2 separate regions of the Homo sapiens genome follow, and region 2 is linked to region 1. Evidence: promoter capture Hi-C in 16 types of primary human blood cells and fetal thymus (Javierre and others, 2016). All regions are on one chromosome and are shown on one strand. The core of a region is centred on a gene start or on the middle of the fragment in contact, and the rest is flanking DNA. Distances in the headings are between cores, read along the strand shown.

What was found. The method cuts DNA at HindIII sites, captures the fragments that hold promoters and counts their contacts. A CHiCAGO score of 5 or more calls a contact.
Region 2: the fragment with the promoter of LAMTOR5 here is called in contact with the fragment with the promoter of NRAS in region 1 in 1 of 17 cell types (non-activated CD4 T cells); the score reaches 6.6 in non-activated CD4 T cells.

The regions. Positions count from the first base shown.
Region 1 is chr1:114,714,142-114,718,020 of GRCh38, reverse strand. NRAS (NRAS proto-oncogene, GTPase) reads left to right here and starts at 1,250. Exons shown (of 7, transcript NM_002524.5): 1 at 1,250-1,363; 2 at 1,844-1,971. The coding sequence starts at 1,861. It overlaps CSDE1 (cold shock domain containing E1), which reads left to right. Exons shown (of 20, transcript NM_001007553.3): 20 at 1-1,105. RefSeq lists enhancers at 1,245-1,444, 1,455-1,554. The HindIII fragment of the contact is 3,751 bases long and covers 1-1,788 here.
Region 2 is chr1:110,403,932-110,409,896 of GRCh38, reverse strand. LAMTOR5 (late endosomal/lysosomal adaptor, MAPK and MTOR activator 5) reads left to right here and starts at 2,203. Exons shown (of 4, transcript NM_001382293.1): 1 at 2,203-2,311; 2 at 3,518-3,579; 3 at 5,861-5,965. The coding sequence starts at 2,277. LAMTOR5-AS1 (LAMTOR5 and SLC16A4 antisense RNA 1) reads right to left here and starts at 2,088. Exons shown (of 3, transcript NR_102697.1): 1 at 1,943-2,088. RefSeq lists an enhancer at 2,032-2,261. The HindIII fragment of the contact is 8,453 bases long and covers 302-5,965 here.

The sequences.
Region 1 (3,879 bases), core at 1-2,500:
GTTATGTTTAAAAAAATAAATAAATTTAAGAAAACCATTTTAAATAATGCACAGTTGCAGCCTGGAAAAACTTAAGGTGGCGCCTTATAGTATCAATTTTAGGAGCTTTATTTGGTGCATTTAACGCAACTGGTAATTGCAGAATCCACTTTGCCTGTGTAAGTGAAAAATATAGACTGTTATCTTGTTGGCCCTATGAAATTCTGCACTTTTCATTATATACTCTACCTTCATTAATTACTTCTGGCAAGATGTTCTGCCTTAGCACTCAGTTGCATTCTTTTCCTTTTTCTTCCTGTTCATTATGCTTTAATTCTGAGGACCATATGAGGGTAGAATATATTATCTTTTAAAAATTACAAAAATTTGTATAGGCAAACCATTTCTTAAAGTTGATGGCCAAATTTTAAAATGTTATTTTTCATATCATTTATAATCTTGTCACAATCCACTTAAAGAAGTTTGGTTATATTTCAGTGAAAATTTTCTTCCAGAGTAGGTTTTTTTTCGTGGGTTGGGGGGTAACTTTACTACAATTAGTAAGTATGGTGCAGAATTTCATGCAAATGAGGAGTGCCAGCAGTGTGATAATTTAAACATATTTAAACAAAAACAAAAAAAATGAATGCACAAACTTGCTGCTGCTTAGATCACTGCAGCTTCTAGGACCCGGTTTCTTTTACTGATTTAAAAACAAAACAAAAAAAAATAAAAAAGTTGTGCCTGAAATGAATCTTGTTTTTTTTTATAAGTAGCCGCCTGGTTACTGTGTCCTGTAAAATACAGACACTTGACCCTTGGTGTAGCTTCTGTTCAACTTTATATCACGGGAATGGATGGGTCTGATTTCTTGGCCCTCTTCTTGAATTGGCCATATACAGGGTCCCTGGCCAGTGGACTGAAGGCTTTGTCTAAGATGACAAGGGTCAGCTCAGGGGATGTGGGGGAGGGCGGTTTTATCTTCCCCCTTGTCGTTTGAGGTTTTGATCTCTGGGTAAAGAGGCCGTTTATCTTTGTAAACACGAAACATTTTTGCTTTCTCCAGTTTTCTGTTAATGGCGAAAGAATGGAAGCGAATAAAGTTTTACTGATTTTTGAGACACTAGCACCTAGCGCTTTCATTATTGAAACGTCCCGTGTGGGAGGGGCGGGTCTGGGTGCGGCCTGCCGCATGACTCGTGGTTCGGAGGCCCACGTGGCCGGGGCGGGGACTCAGGCGCCTGGGGCGCCGACTGATTACGTAGCGGGCGGGGCCGGAAGTGCCGCTCCTTGGTGGGGGCTGTTCATGGCGGTTCCGGGGTCTCCAACATTTTTCCCGGCTGTGGTCCTAAATCTGTCCAAAGCAGAGGCAGTGGAGCTTGAGGTAAGTTTATCTCATGCATAGTGTTCGGCTTTGGGCTGTGGAATGTTCAGGCGTTTCACTGATGCCAGAAATGGAGCAGAATCTATCAGCTGGAGACAAAGGCCTTGGGCGGGGGTCCTTCCATTTGGTGCCTACGTGGGGAGATCTTTGGAGACAGAAGGGAGAATGGGAAGGAGTTGCGGCCTGGAGGCTTCCTGCTAGAGCTGAGAAGCCTTCGGGGAGTAATAGGAAGGGGGATTTCCATTGCTTAGGCTGAGGGCGGGGCCCAAGGACTGTTGAAAAATAGCTAAGGATGGGGGTTGCTAGAAAACTACTCCAGAAGTGTGAGGCCGATATTAATCCGGTGTTTTTGCGTTCTCTAGTCACTTTAAGAACCAAATGGAAGGTCACACTAGGGTTTTCATTTCCATTGATTATAGAAAGCTTTAAAGTACTGTAGATGTGGCTCGCCAATTAACCCTGATTACTGGTTTCCAACAGGTTCTTGCTGGTGTGAAATGACTGAGTACAAACTGGTGGTGGTTGGAGCAGGTGGTGTTGGGAAAAGCGCACTGACAATCCAGCTAATCCAGAACCACTTTGTAGATGAATATGATCCCACCATAGAGGTGAGGCCCAGTGGTAGCCCGCTGACCTGATCCTGTCTCTCACTTGTCGGATCATCTTTACCCATATTCTGTATTAAAGGAATAAGAGGAGAGAAAGTAAAAAGTTATTTTGGGTATACATTCAGTTATGCAATAAGCTTAACGTGTTTATAGAGAACAGTTCATTTTTATTAGCTGCTGAAGTTTCTAAAACCTGTCCAGTTTTTAACAGTTCTGTAAACTATTGCAAACTCAGTGTTGAGTTCATTCATGAGTTTCTTCATATATAACAGCTCTATTACATGAGAAACACAGGCCATAGTAGCGAGACTGTCTGATTGTATGGGAGATAATAGGATGGAGATAAAGGATTCAGAGATGAGTGTTCTTCAATATTTATTTATTAGCTAGTTGAAGCAGCTGAGACCAGATGATTGGAGTAGCAAGAACTTGAGATTTTTAGTCTTTATGCCTAGGATTTTGGTCCCTGTTTGCAGTTTATTTAGTTGTGTGATATTGAGCAACTGAATCTCTCCCAACCTCATTTTCCTCATGTTTTAAATTACCATAAACTTGTCCTGCCTACCACACAGGGATGTTATGGAAAGTTAAATAATATATTTAAGTTATTTATGAATGGTAAAGCACTATGTAATAGTACTTAGGGATTCTATTGTTATTATGAGAGTTCATGGTACAGATTGTCTTCAGTAAGTGGCACCTAAGGCTCTTTAAATAAAGGGTTTTGCCGGACACGGTGGCTCACGCCTGTAATCCCAGCACTTTGGGAGGCTGAGGCAGGCGGATCACAAGGTCAGGAGTTCAAGACCAGCCTGATCAACATGGTGAAACCCCGTCTCTACTAAAAATACAAAAATTAGCTGGGTGTGGTGGCAGGCACCTGTAATCCCAGCTACTCAGGAGGCTGAGGCAGGAGAATCGCTTGAACCAGAGGCAGAGGGTGCAGTGAGCCGAGATCACACCACAGACCTCCAGCCTGGGCAACAGAGCGAGACTTCGTCTCAAAAAATAAATAAATAGATAAATAAATAAAGGGTTTTGTAATTTTGTTCAGTTTAGAAATGCCTAACTTTAGAGATTATTTTAATCAACACCTGGCCTCCCTACCATCTGGCTACTCGTGTTTAATTGATGAAAACTAACTCTAATGTAGCCACTATAAAAAATTGGTTGCTAACCCTTGGCAAAATCTTTATTTTGAGCTTAACAGCTTTAATATTTTACATGAAATGTTTAATATTTTAATTAAATATTTTTAAATGTTTGATTTATTGAGCAATTTACATAAGTAAAATACATAAATTTTATGTCTACAGCCCAGTGCTTTTTGCGTTTCTATATAGTCATGTAGCTACCACCCAGATAACAGTATAGAGCACTTCCAGTACTCCAGAGAGTTCTCCAAGTGTGATGACATTAAAATACAAGTAAAAGTCCTGTTGCCATAAAACCAAAATGAAAGTATTTTTTATATGATCTATGCATGTTTGTCTTCCTGAGAAATTAAACATAACTATACCTTGTTTGGAACCTTTAAGAATTTGATTCAGGAATATTTCCCAAAGGTACATCTGTCATGATAAAAAAAAAACCTTCTCTGAAACAAAGGTATTTGTATATTTAGTCATAAACACAAATGATGTATATAGGGCCAGGTTATAATTGGTGGAGGTATGTTTAGATTTCTTTAAGTAAAATAAACAGCACAAATAAAACAGTCCAGTTCATAGCTTAGTGAAATACACTGGGTACTTAATCTGTAGCCTCCTGGCTGCAGTAGAGTTGTCATTTGAGTTACTGTGTTTTCTTAATCTTTTCCAGGAACACAGTGACCATATTTCTTTTCTGCAGGCATATAGAATTTGGTGGGTTTTCTTTTATGTAGGGTGATATTGGATACTTTTTGTT
Region 2 (5,965 bases), core at 954-3,453, 4.3 Mb after region 1:
CCCAGCACTTTGGGAGGCTGAGGTGGGCGGATCGCTTGAGGTCAGGAGTTTGAGACCAGCCTGGCCAACATGGTGAAACCCCATCTCTACTAAAAGCACAAAAATTAGCCACGTGTGGTGGTGCATGCCTGTAATCCCAGCTACTCGGGAGGCTGAGGCAGAAGAATCGCTTGAACCAGGAGGCAGAGGTTGCAGTGAGCTGAGACGGCGCCACTGCACTCCAGCCTGGGCGATAGAGCAAGACTCTGTCTCAAAAAAATAAAGAAATAAACAAACTGGAATTTCAAGGAAGCTGCAAGCTTCACTATGACAGCTGCGGAATAAAAAGGGACTCTGAATGCCAGTGCAGTGTATTGGACTTTGGTTCAATACCAAAGTCTGGTATCTTCCGATCTGGGAGCTGGGCCCCAGATTGGAAGGTAGGCTGTGAGTAAAAAGCTGGAGGTGACAGAGTTGGAAGAAACTTAGTGCAAGGAATGATCCACAGAGGGGGTGAGGCTTACCAATTTGAGTAAATTAGCACCACTTTTTCGGGAGGCAATTTGTAAGTATGTATCAAGAGTCTTAAAAAATGATCATGTCCTTTAACCCAGTCATTCCATTTCTAGTAACTTATAAGGAAATTTTAAAACTGCACAGATATTTAGCTATGAGGATATTCAACCAGCATTGTAATAGCTAAAACAAAAAACAAACAAAAGCAAAAAAAAAAAAAAAAGTCCAAGTACAGTGGCTCACCTGCAATCTCAGCGCTTTGGGAAGCCAACGAGGGAGGGTCACTTGAGACTGGGCTACACACTGAGACTCCATCTCTACAATTTTTTTTTTAATTAGCTAGGTGGGGTGGCGGGTCCCTGTAGTCCCAGCTTCTTGGGAGGCTGAGGTGGGAAGATCGCTTGAACCTAGAAGGCTGAGGCTGGACTAAGCCATGATAGTGCCACTGCACTCCAACCTTAATCCACAATTAAGATACAGCTATAAAATGGAATATTTTGCAACTACTACAAAGGATGTAAGTGAAAACTTGACATGGAAAGACATTTATTCTAAACTCTGTAAAGAAGGCCAGCTACAGAATTGTACCTCCAGTATGTATGTCAATTTTGCTTACAAAACAAACAAAACAAAAAAAACCATGCTAGGCGTGGTGACTCAGCCTGTAATCACATTTTGGGAGGCTGGAGTGGGAGGATCTGTTGAAGCAAGGAGTTTAAGACCAGCCTGGACAACACAGCGAGACCCCCATCTCTACAAAAAAACGTAAAAATTAGCCAGACATGATGGCTCGAGGCTGTGGTCCTAGCCAGTCGAGAGGCTGAGAGGTGAGGATAGCTTGAACCCAGGACGTCCGGGTTGCAATGAGCTATAATCGTTCTACTGCACTACAGCCTGGGTAACAGAGCAAGACCCTGTCCCCCAAAAAATTTATTTTAAAAAGGCAAACGAAAAAACATTAAAAGTATACATTTACAAAGACAACTATCTGAAAGGATATTCTCCAAGAAGTTAAAAGTCGTCTTTGGACAGTGGGGCCATAGATGTTTTCCTATTTTTACCAGCTTTATAATTAATTTTTAAAAGTTATTTTCAAGTAGTCCTACCCAGTCTTCCTTACGAGTTAGGACTCAAATGCCACTCTCTTCCCCTAAACTGTCCTGAGTCCCCTCACCATAATAAGCACCAATGTCTTCGTTAAAATCCCGACACTGCCAACACTCAGCTAGGGGGTTGAACCTTGCTCCATCTCGTCCTTTAGTCTCTGTGTGCGTCTTTCCCCCTACAAGCCTACTGACCCCCTCCAAGAGGTCCCGTGTCTTCCCCGTACTTGCCCCACAGGCTAGATCAGACCCTGTCTGACCCCTGGGTTATTGTAAAACTTAAGATCTGTCCCCTAGGTCTCGGAGTCGGTTGAACTAGGGTCCAAAGGTTAAAAAACACTGACACAAAATGCCAGGCCACGAACTGAAGCACTGAGGCCCGGCTGCAGACCTCTCCCGAGAGGGGAATAATCCGTGCCGGCCGGTTCCGCCATGGAGCCAGGTGCAGGTCACCTCGACGGTCACCGCGCGGGGAGCCCAAGCCTTCGTCAGGCTCTGTGCGACGGAAGCGCAGTGATGTTTTCCAGTAAAGAACGCGGACGTTGCACCGTGATCAATTTTGTCCCTTTGGAGGCGCCGTTACGGTCCACGCCCCGCTCGCGTCAAGTGACTGAGGCCTGTGGTGGAGAAGGACGTGCCGTGCCGCTGGGTTCTGAGCCGGAGTGGTCGGTGGGTGGGATGGAGGCGACCTTGGAGCAGCACTTGGAAGACACGTGAGTAGTGCGCGCCTCTTCGGCCTGTCCTGAGGTCGCGGCGGAGGAACTTGAGCGGAACGAAAGGCGCGAGCTGCGAGTACCGGCCAGGGCGTCTCGGGGACGTCGCGCGACCCCCGGGACACGGGATGAGGGGGCTAAACTCTACCCAAGGCCGCAGGGCGGGGCGGGTGACCCGGAATTAAAATCCTGCCGGGCACCGCACATTCCCTCTTGAGCGAGTCTCCCGGGCCCAGGCCACGGGCCAAAACTGCCTATCTCGTTGTTGAAATCGTCTTTACGGTCAGGGTGGTTCTGCGGAAGTTTTAGAAAACGGGTTGACTTTTGGGAAGATTGTGCCAGTTGTGCAGTGTCGAGCCCTGCAGTGTAAACAAACACGTATCTCCTGTGTGTAACCTATCAGTTACTTGGTGCTTAAGTAGATAAAAATCATTCTTTAAATTTTTCGAACAAGCAGTATCTATGTAAAATTCAAAACTGGAAAAGTGTAAAGGGTACAGAGAGACACCTGCCTCCCACCGATGTCCCTCAGCTTCCACTTACCCTCCAGGAGGTAACTTGAGTTTTTCAACAGTTGTTTTAAATGAGTTAGTACTAAAACATGCGTTTTTAACAAGAGTGAAAACATCCTAGATGTTTTTCACGCAGTGTTTGTGGCCCTCCAGAACTCAGCAGTACTTAGCACATTTTTTTCTCTCATCAGAGAGAAACTGGTTTATTTCAATTAATTAACTAGAACTTAAATTTTTTGTGTTCTTTTTTTGAGACGGAATTTCGCTCGTCTTCCAGGCTGGAGTGCAATGGCGTGATCTCGGCTCACTGCAACCTCCGCCTCCCAGGTTCAAGCGATTCTCTTGCCTCAGCCTCCCGAGTAGCTGGGATTACAGTCATGCGCCACCACGCCTGGCTAATTTTGTATTTTTAGTAGAGACGGGGTTTCTCCATGTTGGTCAGGCTGGTCTTGAACTCCCGACCTCAGGTGATCCGCCCACCTGGGCCTCCCAAAGTGCTGGGATTACAGGCGTGAGCAACCGCGCCCGGCCCTAGAACTTAATTTTTTTCTTAGGGTGTGACAATGAAAAAAGATTGAGAAATATTGATTTAAAGCACTTAATGCCTGGTACATAGAACACCTGTATGTTTGTACTTATTTAAATCCTTTTTCTCCCATTATGTACTTCAACTCTCTTGTGTTCCTGGAATTAGAATGAAGAATCCCTCCATTGTTGGAGTCCTGTGCACAGATTCACAAGGACTTAATCTGGGTTGTAAGTATCTCTCATACCAACTATTTGATGAATTGCATAGCATCTGATGTTGACTTGGAGCCTAGCGTGCTATTATTTTCTAGCTTTTATTTCCTGTTACCTTGCCAGGTCTTTCTGAGTTTGAGAGTAGAGATTATCTCCAAATAACAGTATCAGAAAATTGAAACTTTTCAGTTGGTATTTATGAAGGAAGATGTTCCTTGCAGTCCTATAACAATAAATAGTTGTCTCTACTAAAAATAATATTTGAATCATTTTAAATTGAGTCTAGAAAGGACTTCAGATAATAACAGCTGTTAACCATTTATTGAATGTATGCCATATGCTGAGACTGCTAGGCTCTAAATACATTATCTTTAATTTTCACAACAACCCGGCAAGGTGGGTGGTGTACAATTTTGAAGCTCAACTACACTAAACAAGAAGTGAATAGGCAGTAAAATGGGATTTCAGTGTTGGACATACCTGGTCTCAATCCCTTGCTCTTTCATTTGTTAGTAGTGTGAACGTGGACCAAAAAACTACCTTTTAGGCCCTCATTTTCTTCACTGGGTTGTTATTTGATAATGGTAATAATCATAGAATTATATTTATTGAGCTGTTATGTGCCAAGCACCATTGTAAGTGCTTTACATATACTCTTTTATTCCTCATAACAACCCAGTGAGGTAGAAAAAGAAATTGAGGGACCAGGTGCAGTGTCTCACGCCTGTAATCCCAGCACTTTGGGAGACCAAGGTGGGCAGATCACTTGAGCCCAGGAGTTCAAGACCAGCCTGTGCAACACAGTGAGACCCCCCATCTCTATTTTTACAATAAACATATATATATGTTTTTAAAATTTAAAAAAAGAGGCCGGATGCGGTGGCTCACACCTGTGATCCCAGCACTTTGGGAGGCGGAGGCGGGTGGATCACCTGAGGTCAGGAGTTCGAGACTAGCCTGGCCAACATGGTGAAACCACATCTCTACTAAAAATGCAAAAAAAAATTAGCCAGGCATGGTAGCAGGTGCTAGTAATCCCAGCTACTCGGGAGGCTGAGGCAGGAGAATCGCTTGAACCTGGGAGGCAGAGGTTGCAGTAAGCCGAGATTGCACCATTGCACTCCAGCCTGGATGACAAGAGCGAGACTCTGTCTCAAAAAATAAAAAAAGAAACTGAGACACAGAGGTTAAATAACTTGCCTGAGGTCATGCAGCTAGTAAGTCGTTAAGCTAGGATTTTTGTCTGGCCCTGAGGCCTCTTAATCACTTTTTTTTTTTTTTTTTTGAGACGAAATCTTGCTCTGTCGCCCAGGCTAGAGTGCAGTGGCACGATCTTGGCTCACTGCAACCTCCATTTCCCAGGTTCAGGCAATTCTCCTGCCTCAGCCTCCTGAGTAGCTGGGATTACAGGCGCCTGCCACCACGCCCAGATAATTTTTGTATTTTTAGTAGATACAGGGTTTCACTATGTTGGCCAGGCTGGTCTCGAACTCCTTATCTCAGGTGATCCACCCACCTCCGCCTCCCAAAGTGCGGGATTACAGGAATGAGCCACTACACCCGGCCTAATCACGATATTTTAAGGTTATATAATATGTATAAAATGCTTACATAGAACTGAGACATAATACTTAATAAATGGTAGCAATTACACATGAGGAAATAAGTTTGGAAAGGTAAATAAGTAAAGCATTCAGTTAATTAGTGACAACTAGTAAACCCAAGACTTGTTGCTCCTAATGCAGGAATGTTTAAAGCTCTGAATTTTTGCTGGAAGGGTAACTGAAAGAGGTAATCGGTGTAACTCAGTTATGTTTAACATGCAGATCAGTCATTTGGGAGAAAAAGGGTAAATTTTTGGAAGCATTTGCTAGGCTTACTAATGGAAAGACTGAAATTCAGGTATGGAAATCTAAAACTAAATGAGTTCCTTCAAGAAACCTTCAAGGCTCAAACGTCGGCATCGGATCTGGTCAAAATGTTTTGTATAGTAATAGTACATCCAAATGCTCTGCCATAGTGGCATGTCTATTACCTGATTTGGTTTCAGGTACAGTTAACTTTGTGTTGCCTTTATATACAGAAATATATTGTAAAGTACACTTAGTAATTAATTTTCGTACCTAGAATTTATAGGTACTTTTGTACCCGAGATTTAGTTACTATAATATATACAGACTAATACAGACATTAATAAAAAGACAATTCTGTAGACATTTTAAAACAGCCAGCTAGCTTATTTTAGCAGAAATACTCTATGAGCAATCAGGTGACATATATCATCTCTATTTTCCAGGCCGCGGGACCCTGTCAGATGAGCATGCTGGAGTGATATCTGTTCTAGCCCAGCAAGCAGCTAAGCTAACCTCTGACCCCACTGATATTCCTGTGGTGTGTCTAG